Regions from separate parts of the Homo sapiens genome. Here region 1 is linked to region 2. The links are contacts of gene promoters, found by promoter capture Hi-C in human tissues and cell types (Jung and others, 2019). All regions are on one chromosome and are shown on one strand. The core of a region is centred on a gene start or on the middle of the fragment in contact, and the rest is flanking DNA. Distances in the headings are between cores, read along the strand shown.

Region 1 (6,127 bases), core at 3,628-6,127, 470 kb before region 2:
CAGAAGCCTCTGAGGGCTTGCTGAGCTGATGTGGCTGCTGGCTCCTGCTCCAGCGCGCCCTCCACTGGCTCCATCAGGCATCAGCATGACCCTTGGCAGATGCAGAATCACTTTGTAGTTAGACGACTGATTCCTGGGTCTTTGCCTCTGGACCAGGAGCTCCTGAGGGCAGAGGCGGGGCAGCTTCAGCACCTGGCACCTGGGAGGAGGGGCTGGCATCTGGGGGTGCTGACTCTGCTCCTTTGTTTTTTTTGTTTGTTTGCTTGGTTGGGTTTTTTTGTTATTGTTTCTTTTTTAAATTTTTTTATTTTGTGTCTTCTTAAAATTTTTTTTTTGTTTCTCTTTATCTTTTCTTTCTTTCGTTTTCCTTTTTAAAATTTTTTTCTTTTTTGTTTCTTTATTTTTTATTTTTTTATGTTTCTTTTTGTTTTGTTTTGTTTTTGTTTGACTCTGCCCCATTGAATCTTAGGTTTCCGCCTTTTCTTCACATCTGTCCCTGGAGGCCGTGAGAAGGAAGAGTCTCCCCAACCCCGCCGAAAGCGACAGCCCTCCAGCTCCAGGTGAGAACTCACACCTCTCCTCACGTCCCCTCCTTTTTTCTCCTCTTCTGTCTTGGTGGGTTCCCTGGAATAGCCAAGCAGACTCCAGTCAGGACCAGGCCAAGGCAGTGGCCCTGTCAGGCAGCTGGAGAAATCATGAGCTCAGCGGGAGGGAAAGCCCTCTTGGCGGCAGCTTTGGATGTTTACTGCTTTTGAGCACCTGTCTTGGGCCAGACACCTCACTTGATCATAGTTGCCTCCTGGGACATCCCTGGGAGGCCTGGACTCTGTTAAGATCCCCGTTTTAGAGATGATACAGTCAGAGAGGTTAAGTCACTTAAGGAGGTCACAAGGCTGCTACGCCCAGAAGCCAGTATTGGAAGCCAGGTTGGCCTCACTCCCAAGCCTGAACTCACTACCTGCCTCTCTCTGCGGCCACCTTCTGGTGACCTGGACCAAGGGAGGACAGCGAGAGGCAGCTCTGGGGCTGTGTCCTGACTCCAGCTAACCCAGGGTACCCTCTCGTTGCAGCAGTGAGGACAGTGACGAGGAGTGGCGGCGGTGCCGGGAGGCAGCTGTGTCGGCGTCCGACATCCTACAGGAGTCAGCCATCCACAGCCCTGGAACAGTGGAGAAGGAGGCAAAGAAGAAAAGGAAGTTGAAAAAGAAAGCCAAGAAGGTGGCCAGTGTCGACTCGGCTGTCGCTGCCACCACCCCCACCAGCATGGCCACAGTCCAGAAGCAGAAGTCAGGTGAGCTCAACGGGGACCAGGTGTCGCTTGGGACCAAAAAGAAGAAAAAGGCAAAGAAGGCCAGCGAGACCTCTCCATTCCCACCAGCAAAGAGTGCTACAGCTATACCTGCAAACTGAACCCAGCCATGGGCACAGGGCTCAGCCAGCTCCAAGGACAAGGTGTCCCCCCCACCCTGGGGACAAGGCATTTCCAAGCCCCACCTCCCTCTCCAAGTTCAAGGACTGGGCTGGCAAACCCAGACTGCCCATGAGACCCTGATGGTGATGAAGGCTTGCTCGAGAGTTGGGCCAAAAAAGTGGCTGTAGGGTGAGAAGACCAATCAAGGCCTGCCCCTCTGTGCTCCCACGGAGGGCTGGCGGGGGCGCTGTGGTTCCAGAACATTTCATGACCTCAGGAAAAAAGGAACCTTCCAGTTATTTGAGACTAGTGGCCAAGTGGTGAAACCTCCATCTCCCTAGAACTGTCTGAGGTGGGCAGGGGAAGGGAGACCTTCCCCACCACCTCCTTAGCCTGGTGTGAGAAACAGTTTTTAGAAAATGAGAGAAGGGATCCCCAAGAGGCCAAGGCCCAGAGAAACTTTTGTTCTTCTCTCCTTAGCCCACATAGACTTCACAGAATCGTCTGAGAAAGGAGAGCTTTTTCACCCCTGGCTTTCTAGAATTTTCTTTGTCTGCATTTGTGAATATACCACACATGATGGTGTCTCTGAGCCGACCAGATTATGGAAACTCAATTGTCAGAGGACCCAAAACAAAACTTAGAGTGATTTGGATATTGCCTCTCTGTCAATGCTGAACCTTAAGACATTTTAAGTAAACATCCTCCTCCTCTCTACACCCCCAGGATTTGTGCGTTCACCCCACCCAAGACTTCAGGAAGTGTCATAGCACTCGTGGACTAGGTTTCATGGGACAAAGGCATTCTGCAAGAAGTAGAAGCTTGTGGCCGGGTGCAGTGGCTCATGCCTGTAATCCAAGCATTTTGAGAGGCCAAGGAGGTGGATCAATTGAGGCCAGGAGTTTGAGACCAGCCTGGCCAACATGGCGAGACCCCATCTCTACTAAAAATACAAAAATTAGCTGAGCATGTTGACACACGCCCGTAATCCCAGCTACTCAGGAGGCTGAGGTGGGAGAATCGCTTGAACCCAGGAGGTGCAGGTTGCAGTGAGCCGAGATTGCGCCACTGCACTCTAGCCTAAGCAATGGAGCAAGACCCTATCTCAAAAAAAAAAAAAGAAAAAGAAAAAGAAAAGAAGTAGAAGCTCATGGCCAGGGATGGTGGCTCACACCTGTAATCCCAGCACTTTGGGAGGCCGAGGCAGGTGGATCACTTGAGCCGAGTTCCAGACCAGCCTAGGCAACATGGTGAAACCTCGTCTCTATAAAAAAAAGAATACAAAAATTAGTTGGGCATGGTAGTGAGCGCCTGTGAGGCTGCTTGTGAGGCTGAGGTGGGAGGATCCCTTTAGTCCAGGAGTTCAAGGCTGCAGTGAGCTGTATAATGCCACTGCAGTCCAGCCTGGGTGACAGTGAGACCCTGTCTCCAAAACAAAATTTTTTTAAAAAGTAGAAGCTTGAGGTTAAGATGAAATCTGGCTTTGTCATTAGAGTCTCAGCAGAGCAAGAAAAGCAGAGATGTGGGGTGTGAGAGCGTGGGTGCTGGAGCCTGTCTCCTCTTCGCAGGCCTCTGGCCTGCCCCAGCCTCCCGCTACCTGCCCAAACCCCATCTGAATGATTTGTGGACAAGCAAGAAGTTTCCACCGCATTTCTCCTTGACTTTACTAAAAGTTAAATAAACGTGCCACTCGCCCCGGCTGGCTACAAGCTGCAGGGGGTGCCGGGTCACCCCAGGCCTTTTCCTGAATCCCAGGGTAGACGCGGTACACTGAAGGCCAGGTTCTCAGCAGCAGGCCCAGGGATGTGGGACCATGCTTGTCCTGGGTTCACAGGCTCCTTTGTCCCTCCTGGCAGTGCTCAGGACCTCAGACTCCTCAGGGTGGCTGCGAACTGCCCTCAGCCAGCCAGGCCCCCAGGCTTCTGAGTGTTAGTCCTGTCCACACAGGTAGCTCCTGTGCCCTGGGGTCACCTCTTTCTTCTCCTGGGCACCTCAGCTTGGCCAGTTCCCCGGCCCTGCTCAGCTGCTCGGGCCTTGCTGCCTTGTGAGCTCAGCTACTCCTGCCCCAAACAAGGGCAGGGTCTGCAGGGCGCTCGAGACAGAGGAGCTGCCCCACCAGGACCTGGACTTGGCACGGGTTGCGAGGCTCCCACAGGAGTAAGGACGACTTCCCAGCCCCGAAGTAGCCTTCCCAGTAGAGGCAGGAGGCCAGGCTGGCCTCAGAGGCATGATGCTCTTGGGAACAAATACAGGAAAGCTGGAGGTCATGGGGCCTGGGAGAGGGAATCGCTGGGGATGGGAAGCCAGGAGAGCCCTGCCTGCCTTCCCTGTTAGCTTCGGCCTCCCTGGGCTCAGGCGTTAGAGCCCCAGGCTCTGGCACAGAGTAGCCACCCAGGAAATGCCTGTGTGAGTAGGTGATGGGGTCAGTACAAATGGCATGTGGGTCACTAGCTGGAAGGAGTTGGGGCAGGAAGGAGTGGCCCGGTGGGTACATTGGTGACAGAACAAGGCCACGCTGATCCAGGGCCTCTCAGAGCTCAGCAGGTCACAGCTACACAGGCCTGTGTCCTGAGAAGTGTGGCTGCCAGAGTGGTGTAGCGGTCCCAGGGCTCTCCATAGGCCCAGGCTGGGGGTGCCCAAGTCATAGGCCGCCCCCTTCAGTTCCAAGTAAGAAGACTGTATCCCACGAAGCAGCGACAGTCCCTCCTACATCTGCCATGAACAGGCTTTGCTCCTAGCTCTCCACGACCCCCTCCTGTGCACCCCGAGCAGCCTCCACGGGTTGGGGCGCCTCAGAGCCCTCCCTTTCTGATGCATCAGAGCAGAGTGGGGAGCGAGGCACAGCTGTCCAGGAAGGGCCACGGTTGCTCGGCAGGCTCAGGTCCTCCAGGCAGGGCTGGCTGCTGCCCTCATCACCCCCCAAGCAGGCAGTACAGGCCCCAGGGCCCAGGTGCCGTGGTTACTGGGAGGAAGAGGCCATCTGGGTGGAGATGAAGGTCTCGATGACGCTGTGGTTGGATGGCAGCAGGTGGCTCTGGCCATTGCTGGAGTCTGAGCTCTGGTACAGCACCAGGCTGCTGGAGGACACTGCAGAGGCAAACAAGGCTGCTAGCCACCCACCAGGCACCCACACCCACCCCACCTGCCTGTCCCTAGGGGTACTCAGGATGGGGAGGCAGGGCCACACCTCCTGGATCACAGCAGATAACAGGAACCCCAAAGTCACACCTCTACCCTCGGTTCTTCAAAGGGAGCCTCCCAGCCAGGGTCCACGGCCGCCCATGGAGTGGCCTGAGTACATCTTAGTGTGAACACTGGAGAAGCCCCGGTGAGATGCCGAGGTAGGTAGTTGTACGTGTTGGCTTGGCTAGGCTGAGTCAAACACTAATCTAGGCGCTGCTGTGAATGCAGGTGCTTTGTAGATGTGGTTAATGCCACAATCAGTTGGCTTTGAGTGAAGGAGATTACCCTGAAAATATGGGTGGGCCTCCTACATCAGTGGAAGGCCGTAAGAGCAAAAACCGGTTTCCCAGAGAAGGAATTCTGCCTCAAGGCTGCAGAATTCACTCCCCAGAGCTGCCAGCAACAGATTTCAGGCCTGCCAGCCCCCCGCAGACACGGGCCAAGTCCTTCAAATAAATCTGTTGGTTCTGTGTTCCTGGAGAACCCTGACTGATGGCAATGGTTAAGAGAATGGGCTTTGAGGTGGGACCTGGGTTCGAGTCCTGGCCCTGCCATCTGGTAGCTGTGGGAGATGAGGCAAGTCCCTCCCCTCCTTGAGTGTCCACTTTCTCATCTGTAAAATGGGGGTGGTCATGGACACGCCTCATGGGGTGAATGCCAGGACACAGAATGGCCTCAGTGGCTGTCATGACAGCTGCCAGGGCCGGGTCCAGGAACCTTATAGAAAGGGGGCAGCTTGCAAAAAGGCAGGCTGCAAAGCCCACCCACCTGACTCCAAAGTGCCCACTCCTGACAATGGCATCATAGATTACAAACTCAGGTGACCGCCCCACCGCCAGGGGTCATTGGAGCCGATGTGAGTGGATGCAGTGAGGCCTGGTGCACTGTTATATGGGAATATGAATTTTTCCAATTTTCCAAAAGATGCCAGAAATCTGGATTTCTATGTGAAAATTCCTGATTTTGAAATGTTGGCAACAAATTCAAAGAATGTTCAACCCTGAGCCAAGCCAAACCAAACACATGCAAGAGTCGCTTCTGGCTCACAGACCTGGTCCTTATCGTTACTCTCCACTGCCTCTAACAATTACTTCATCATTTTCCTCAGTCCAGTCCCTGAGATGTTCTTGTAAGGTGGGCCCCATCTTCCTGGGGTCGCCTGTGCCTCTTGGGCTTCATGGAAGCCCACCCCACCCCTCCACGCCTGCCAGTGCTTCCTCACAGCAGCCCTAGGCCTGCTGCATGCACAGCCCCACAGTGACGGACAGCAACAGAAGGGGTGGGACCAACATGGAAGGGGGCAGGGACAGTAAGGGAGGGGGTGGAGCCAGGGCCTCTCACCTGTGGGGCTGGCGCTGAGCCGGTGGGCCGGCTGCAGGTGCTGGATGCTGGCAGGGTCCTGGCTGGGGACGTGGAGGGTGGTGGCCTGAGATGCCGGCGTGTGAAGCCCGGACTCACTGGAGGCCTCAGTGTCTGAGGTGAAGACCTGGGGGAGCAGAGCAGCCTCCTGAGCCCGGGGGATGTGGGGGTGAG
Region 2 (7,006 bases), core at 3,205-5,704:
ACTTTACGGCACTTCTTCATACAGTACATCACTTTATTTCTTTAGCCTGGCGTGGCGGTGCGCACCTGTGGTCCCCATTACCCAGGAGACAGAGGCGGAAACAGGCCATAAGCAGTGTTTCATGCGTGTAATCCCAACACTTTGGGAGGCAGAGGTGGAAGGATCCTTGGAGGCCAGGAGTTCCAGACCAGCCTGGGGAATATAGCGAGACCCCTGTCTCTAAAGAATAAAAATATTTTTTAAAAAATTAGTTGGGCAGCCGGGCGTGGTGGCTCACACCTGTAATTCCAGCCCTTTGGGAGTCTGAGGAGGGGGCAGATCACTTGAGGCCAGGAGTTCAAGACCAGCCTGGCCAACATAGCAAAATCCCGACCCTATTAAAAATACAAAAATTAGCTGGGCTCTGAATAAAATAGTTTGAATAAAACTAACTTTAATTTAAAAGAGAGAAAGAAAAAAAAATTAGCCAAGCATAGTGGCTGTGGCTGCACACCTGTAGTTCTAGCTACTCAGGAAACTGAGGTGGGAGGATCACCTGAGCCCAGCAGTTGGAGGTTGCAGTGAGATACGATCGTGCCAGTGCACTCCAGTATGAGTGACAGAGAGGGAGACCCTGTCTAAACTTTTTTTTAAAAAGTAGAAACAGAGAACAAAAAGCAGATTAGTCATTTCAAAATTACTTTTCTTGTAAAGGTTTAAGCAGAATGGACTTCCTTATGTGGGGTAAAACTGACCAGTTTGGGGATTTGATGATTTCTCAGAAGGTCAGATAAACAATTTCGTTTAGGCGTGGTTGGGTAGAAATTCACCTTGAGTAACTCTGTTTTGGTTTGGTCTACTGTGCTGAAGCTCAGTGCAAAACAATGGGCTCCTATAAATTGTATTTAACAGCTGTTAACATTATCACATTTAATCTTCTCAATAACTAAATTTTAGACTAAGTGTGCCTGTAGTCCCAGCTACTCAGGAGGCTGAGGAGGGATGATCACTTGAGCCCAAGAGTATGAATCCAGCCTGGGTAACACAACAAGACTCTGTCCCTAAATAAATAAAATTTAAAGATGAGTAAATGGACTCCAAAAGTCCAGATAATTTGCCTATTATCACATAGCTAACAAGTGATGTTCTTACCTATGAGACAAGCAGTTCCTCATTTTACAGATACAGACTGAGATTTAGAAAATCATGCATATGGGGCCGGGCACGGTGGCTCACACCTGTAACCCCAGCACTTTGGGAGGCCAAGCCGGGTGGATCAACAGGTCAGGAGATCGAGACCAGCCTGACCAACATAGTGAAACCCCGTCTCTACTAAAAATACAAAAAAATTAGCCAGGCGTGGTGGTGCGCACCTGTAATCTCAGCTACTGAGGAGGCTGAGGCAGGAGAATCACTTGAACCCAGAAGGCACAGGTTGCAGTGAGCCAAGACTGCACCACTGTATTCCAGCCTGGGCAACAGAGCGAGACTCCATCTCAAAAAAAAAAAGAAGAAAGAAAATAATGTATGTGGGTCAGGTGCAATGTAATCCCAGCACTTTTTGGGAGGCCTGTAATCCCAGCACTTTTTGGGAGGCCTGTAATCCCAGCACTTTTTGGGAGTTCGAGGCGGGCAGATCACGAGGTCAGGATTTCGAGACCAGCCTGACCAATACAGTGAAACCCCGTCTCTCCTAAAAATACAACAATTAGCCGGGCGTGGTGGCGCACACCTGTAGTCCCAGCTACTTGGGAGGTTGAGGGAGGACAATCGCTTGAACCTGGGAGGCGGAGGTTGCAGTGAGCTGAGATTGGGCCACTGCACTCCAGCCTGGGTGACAGAGCGAGACTCTGTCTCAAAAAAAAAAAAAAAGAAAAAAAAAGGAAAATCATGTATGTGGCCAGGCAAGGTAGCTCAATCCCAACATTCTGGGAGGCTGAGGCAGGAAGATCACTTGATGTTAGGAGTTTGAGACCAGCCTGAACATAGTGAAACCAATTCTCTACTAAAAATTAAAAAACAAAAAACAAAAACATATGGTTTACAGATATAGACGCTAAGACTTTGGGAATCATACCACACCTATTTGTACTTTGGAAAATTACAAATGATTCCCTTCCAACCATAGTAGTTTGAGATTCAAAAGATCACATAGACATGCTATTAAGGAAATGACCAGGGCCAGGTGCGGTTGCTCACGCCTATAATCCCAGCACTTTGGGAGATTGAGGTAGGCAGATTGCCCAAGCCCAGGAGTTCAAGACCATTCAGGGCAACATGGCAAAACCCTGTCTCAACAAAAAATGCAAAAATCAGCCCAGTGTGGTGGTGCACACCTGTAGTCCCAGCTACTCAGGAGGTTGAGGTGGGAGGATGGCTTGAGCCTGGGAGGGTGAGAAGTGAGCTATGATTGTGCCACTGCACTCCACCCTGGGTGACAAAGTGAGATCCTATTTCAAAATAAAGAATGAATCAATAAATAAGTAAATAAGACCAGCCTAGCCAAAATGGTGAAACCCCATCTCTACTAAAAATACAAAAATTAGCGCCGGGAGTGGTGGCTCAGCACTTTGGGAGGCTGAGGCAGGTGGATTACCTGAAGTCAGGAGTTCAAGACCAGCCTGGCCAATATAGCGAAACCCCATCTCTACTAAAAATACAAAAATTAGCCTGGCATGGTGGCGCATGCCTGTAATCCCAGCTACTAGGGAAGCTGAGGCAGGAGGATCACTTGAACCCAGAAGACAGAGGTTGCAGTGAGCCGAAGTCATGCCACTGCACTCCAGTCTGGGCAACAGAGCAAGACGCTACCTCAAAAAAAAAATACCTTCCAACAGTCCTTGTCCTACTTCACTTTTTACAGGTTTTCCTCCACATATCATATGAAATAAGAGAACAGTGAAATACTGTTGGTCTGGATACTTAATCTGATGTGCAGAAGGAACAGCCCTAAATCCTGAGATCCATTCTTTTATATAACTAGATATGGAAGATATAAGATTCTTTGATGAGACTTTATTTATTTATTTATTTATTTATTTATTTATTTTTGAGATGGAGTCTGGCTCTGTCACCCAGGCTTGAGTGCAGTGGTGCAATCTCAGCTCACTGCAACCAGTGACTCCTGGGTTGAAGGGATTCTCCTGCTTCAACCTCCTGAATAGCTGGGACTACAGGTGTGCACCACCATGCCTGGCTGATTTTTGTATTTTAGTAGAGACGGGGTTTCACCATGTTAGCCATGCTGGTCTCGAACTCCTGACCTCATGCAATCCGCCCACCTCGGGCTCCCAAAGTGTTGGGATTACAGGCGTGAGCCACCGCACCCAGCCACTTAATTTCTTTTAACAAAGACATGAGAATTATGAATACATGGATGAATCATTTCGCCCTTGTATCCTTCCTTTTTTTTTTCTCATCACTATACCAACGAGGACCTTCTATCATTCTTAAAATAAAAGAGAAAGAAACAGAAATCCCAGCGCAGTACTTCCCAAACGAAAGCGGTTAGGTGTCCATCTGTCAGGCTATATTAAACCAGGAAGAGAATTTTCATTTCAAAACAGTTTCTTCTATTGGCGCTTTCTCCTCGTGAAATATTTACAGGAAACATACATTTAAAATGGAATGAAAGCAGAAACATACAGTAATCCAAGCAAAACTCAACAACGTCCGTTCTTTATTTTGCACAAGACGGTCTGCATTACCCTTGCCATTAAAAAAAGACTGAAAATCTGGGGCTGAAGTAAAACACCCATGACATGCCACCTGGAGCTAGGAATGTAGCTTTGTGTCAGCAGGAGACCAAGTGTGAGTGGTGGTTCTGGCTTGCTAAGTGGATACCAGAGCTTTCGTTCCCATTTATGAGCTTCCTAGGTTCATAAAACGGACAGAACAAAGAAGTCTGTCCTATGTTTATTTTTCAGAGTAGTGTAACATATGTTTCTCAAGAATGGTCTGCATCTTTAGCATCAGAATCGCCAGAGAAATTTGTTTAAATAGAGATTAAAGGGATATAGGTCAGATCAAAATCTCTGGTAGTTGGGGACCCAGGAATCTTCATTTTAAAACGTAAACCAAGTGATTCTTACGCTCAACAAAGTGTGCAGGAATTGGCCCGTGATCTTGGCTTTTTAACCACACCATGCCTCAATTTCCCCCTTCTGCACAAGACAACAAGAGTTCCTGGATATCTTGCGAGTTAGTACTTTTCTGCCTAGCCGGATTCAGAGACATGGCCGCTAAGAGGTGACCCGGGGCTCCCCTGAGATCCCCTGATTCCTGGTGAATTGTAAATTCAATTTGAGAAGAGAGAGAGGAAGGGATTTCCGATACTTAGAGACCACCCTTTGGATCCTAGAGATAATGCCGGCACAACTGTGTATCAGATTTCAGGGCGCGTTCGGCTAATAATGTTGCCGGCCAGCCGCCGTCGTTCGTGGAGTGACGCAACAAGGCGTACTCTCTGGCCGTTGTCACTCGACTACCAAGATGGCGGCCCCCGGGAGCTGTGCTCTATGGAGCTATTGCGGCCGTGGGTGGTCGCGGGCGATGCGGGGCTGCCAGCTCCTCGGGCTTCGTAGCTCTTGGCCCGGGGACCTACTAAGTGCTCGGCTCTTGTCCCAAGAGAAGCGGGCAGCGGAAACGCACTTTGGGTTTGAGACTGTGTCGGAAGAGGAGAAGGGGGGCAAAGGTGAAAGGGGCGAGAGGGCGGATGGGAGGGATCTGACCGTCCATGGTCTGGTTTCTTCTGGCCAGTTAGGGTTGATTTAACATCCAATTAGTTCCAGTGTTGTTGTCTGTGCAGTTATGATTTTTTTTTTTTTTGGAGACAGAATTTCGCTCTTGTTGCCCACACTGGAGTGCAATGGTCCGATCTTGGCTCACTGCAACCTCCGCCTCCCGGGTTCAAGCGATTCTCCTGCCTCAGCTTCCCGAGTAGCTGGGATTACAGGCGCCCGCCAGCACGCCCGGCTAACTTTTTTGTATTCTTACTAGAGATGGGGTTTCACCAGGCTGGTCTCGAACTCCTGACCTCAGGTGATTCGCCTGCCTCGGCCTCCCAAAGTGCTGGGATTACAGGCGTGAGCCACCGCGCCCAGCCAGACGCCCCCTTTTTAAAAGCAGAATACTGATGACTAAATCCCATCAACTGAGCGTTTGTGATGTGCCAGGCAACGTACAGACATTATTTTCAATTCTCATTTTCAACATTCCAGTAGTGGGTATTGTTATTACCATATTACACGTGAGGAAATTGAGACTTAAAGGTTAAGCAAGAAGTTGCCCAGTTGAACATATCAGTAAGTGGCGGAACCAGTATTCAAACCCAGTTTAATCTGAGTCTGAAGCCCCCGTTCTTTACCTCTAGAGAAAAATAGGGGTTTTTTTGGTTGTTTTTATTTATTTATTTATTTATTTATTTATTTTGAGACGGAGTTTCGCTCTTGTTGCCCAGGCTGGAGTGCAATGGCGCAATATGGGCTCACTGCAACCTCAGCCTCCTAGGTTCAAGCGATCCTCCTGCCTCAGCCTCCTGAGTAGCTGGGATTACAGGCATCTGCCACTGTGCCCTGCTAATTTTTGTATTTTCAGTAGAGACGGGGTTTCTTTTTTTTTTTTTTTTTTTTTTTTTTTTTTTTTTGAGACTGAGTCTCTCTCTGTCACCCCCAGGCTGGAAGGCAGTGGCGCGATCTCGGCTCACTGCAAGCTCCGCCTCCTGGCTTCACGCCATTCTCCTGCCTCAGCCTCCCGAGTAGCTGGGACTACAGGGGCCCGCCACCATGCCCGGCTAATTTTTTGTATTTTTTTTTTAGTACAGACAGGGTTTCACCATGTTAGCCAGGATGGTCTGGATCTCCTGACCTCGTGATCCACCTGCCTCGGCCTCCCAAAGTGCTGGGATTACAGGCATGAGCCACCACACCGGCCAATGTATAATCAACATTTTACAATGTATAATCAATGTATAATCAACATTTCACACAGTGGCAAGCAAGGAAGAAGTTAACTACTGAACTAAATATGAATTCCAGATTGGGGACTGAGATTGCAGTACAGACAGTCCTCGCTGTGCACAGTAATGCAAGACTGTGAAAATGTGCAAGCTGAAGTCATACACAATGACCTTAATCAATGGGAAAAATTAGAATTGTTTTATGACCTTTAAAAATTATCAACCATCAAAAACCCTGTCAGTTATAAATGTATAGTGAAATGAAAAAATATATACTGAAGTTGATATTTATTTACAGCCAGGTGCGATGGTTCACACCTGTAATCCCAGCACTTTGGGAGGCCGAGGTAGGCACTTGAAGTCAGGAGTTCGAGACCAGCCTGGCCAACGTGGTGAAACCTCATCTCTACTAAAAATACAAAAAAAATTAGCCAAGCATGGTGACGCACGCCTGTAATCACAGCTAATTAGGAGGCTGAGGCAGGCAAATTTCTTGAACCTGGGAGGTGGACGTTGCAGTGATCTGAGATTGTGCCACTGCACTCTAGCCTGGGCGACACAGTGAGACTGTCTCAAAAACAAAGAAAAAAAATTCTAATAAAAAATTAGAAACCTTGAGAATTAAATTCTTTTATTTCCTTGTAAAAAAATTGCCAAGAGTAGGCTGGGCGCAGTGGCTCACGCCTGTAATCCCAGCACTTTGAGAGGCCGAGGCGGGTGGATCATGAGGTCAGGAGATTGAGACCATCCTGGCTAACACGGTGAAACTCCGTCTCTACTAAAAATACAAAAAAATTAGCCGGGCATGGTGGCGGGCGCCTGTAGTCCCAGCTACTCCGGAGGCTGAGGCAGGAGAATGGCATGAACCCGGGAGGAGGAGCTTGCAGTGAGCCGAGATCCTGCCACTACACTCCAGCCTGGGCGACAGAGCAAGACTCTGTCTCAAAAAAAAAAAAAAAAAAAAAAAAAAAAAAAAAATTGCCAAGAGTAGTTTGAGCACTATTTGCCACCTTCTTGTCGTATGAAATATCTTTTCTATGCCTTGGCAAATTGCCATATTTCTTTCTAAGT

What was found. Contacts are between HindIII fragments. The study calls those that stand out against the background at their distance.
Region 1: a contact is called between a fragment that was not itself captured here and the fragment with the promoter of COQ5 in region 2, in 1 of the 25 tissues and cell types used here (dorsolateral prefrontal cortex).

Annotation. Positions count from the first base shown.
Region 1 is chr12:120,999,436-121,005,562 of GRCh38, reverse strand. It overlaps HNF1A (HNF1 homeobox A), which reads right to left. Exons shown (of 10, transcript NM_000545.8): 9 at 5,936-6,080; 10 at 3,051-4,498. The coding sequence ends at 4,371. C12orf43 (chromosome 12 open reading frame 43) reads left to right here. Exons shown (of 6, transcript NM_022895.3): 5 at 470-560; 6 at 1,074-5,077. The coding sequence ends at 1,410. Among named protein-coding and RNA genes, the nearest start is that of C12orf43, 14 kb to the left of the region's middle. The HindIII fragment of the contact is 9,568 bases long and covers 94-6,127 here.
Region 2 is chr12:120,526,606-120,533,611 of GRCh38, reverse strand. It overlaps COQ5 (coenzyme Q5, methyltransferase), which reads left to right and starts at 4,454. Exons shown (of 7, transcript NM_032314.4): 1 at 4,454-4,672. The coding sequence starts at 4,471. RefSeq lists enhancers at 4,118-4,577, 3,924-4,693, 4,694-5,464. The HindIII fragment of the contact is 25,598 bases long and covers 1-7,006 here.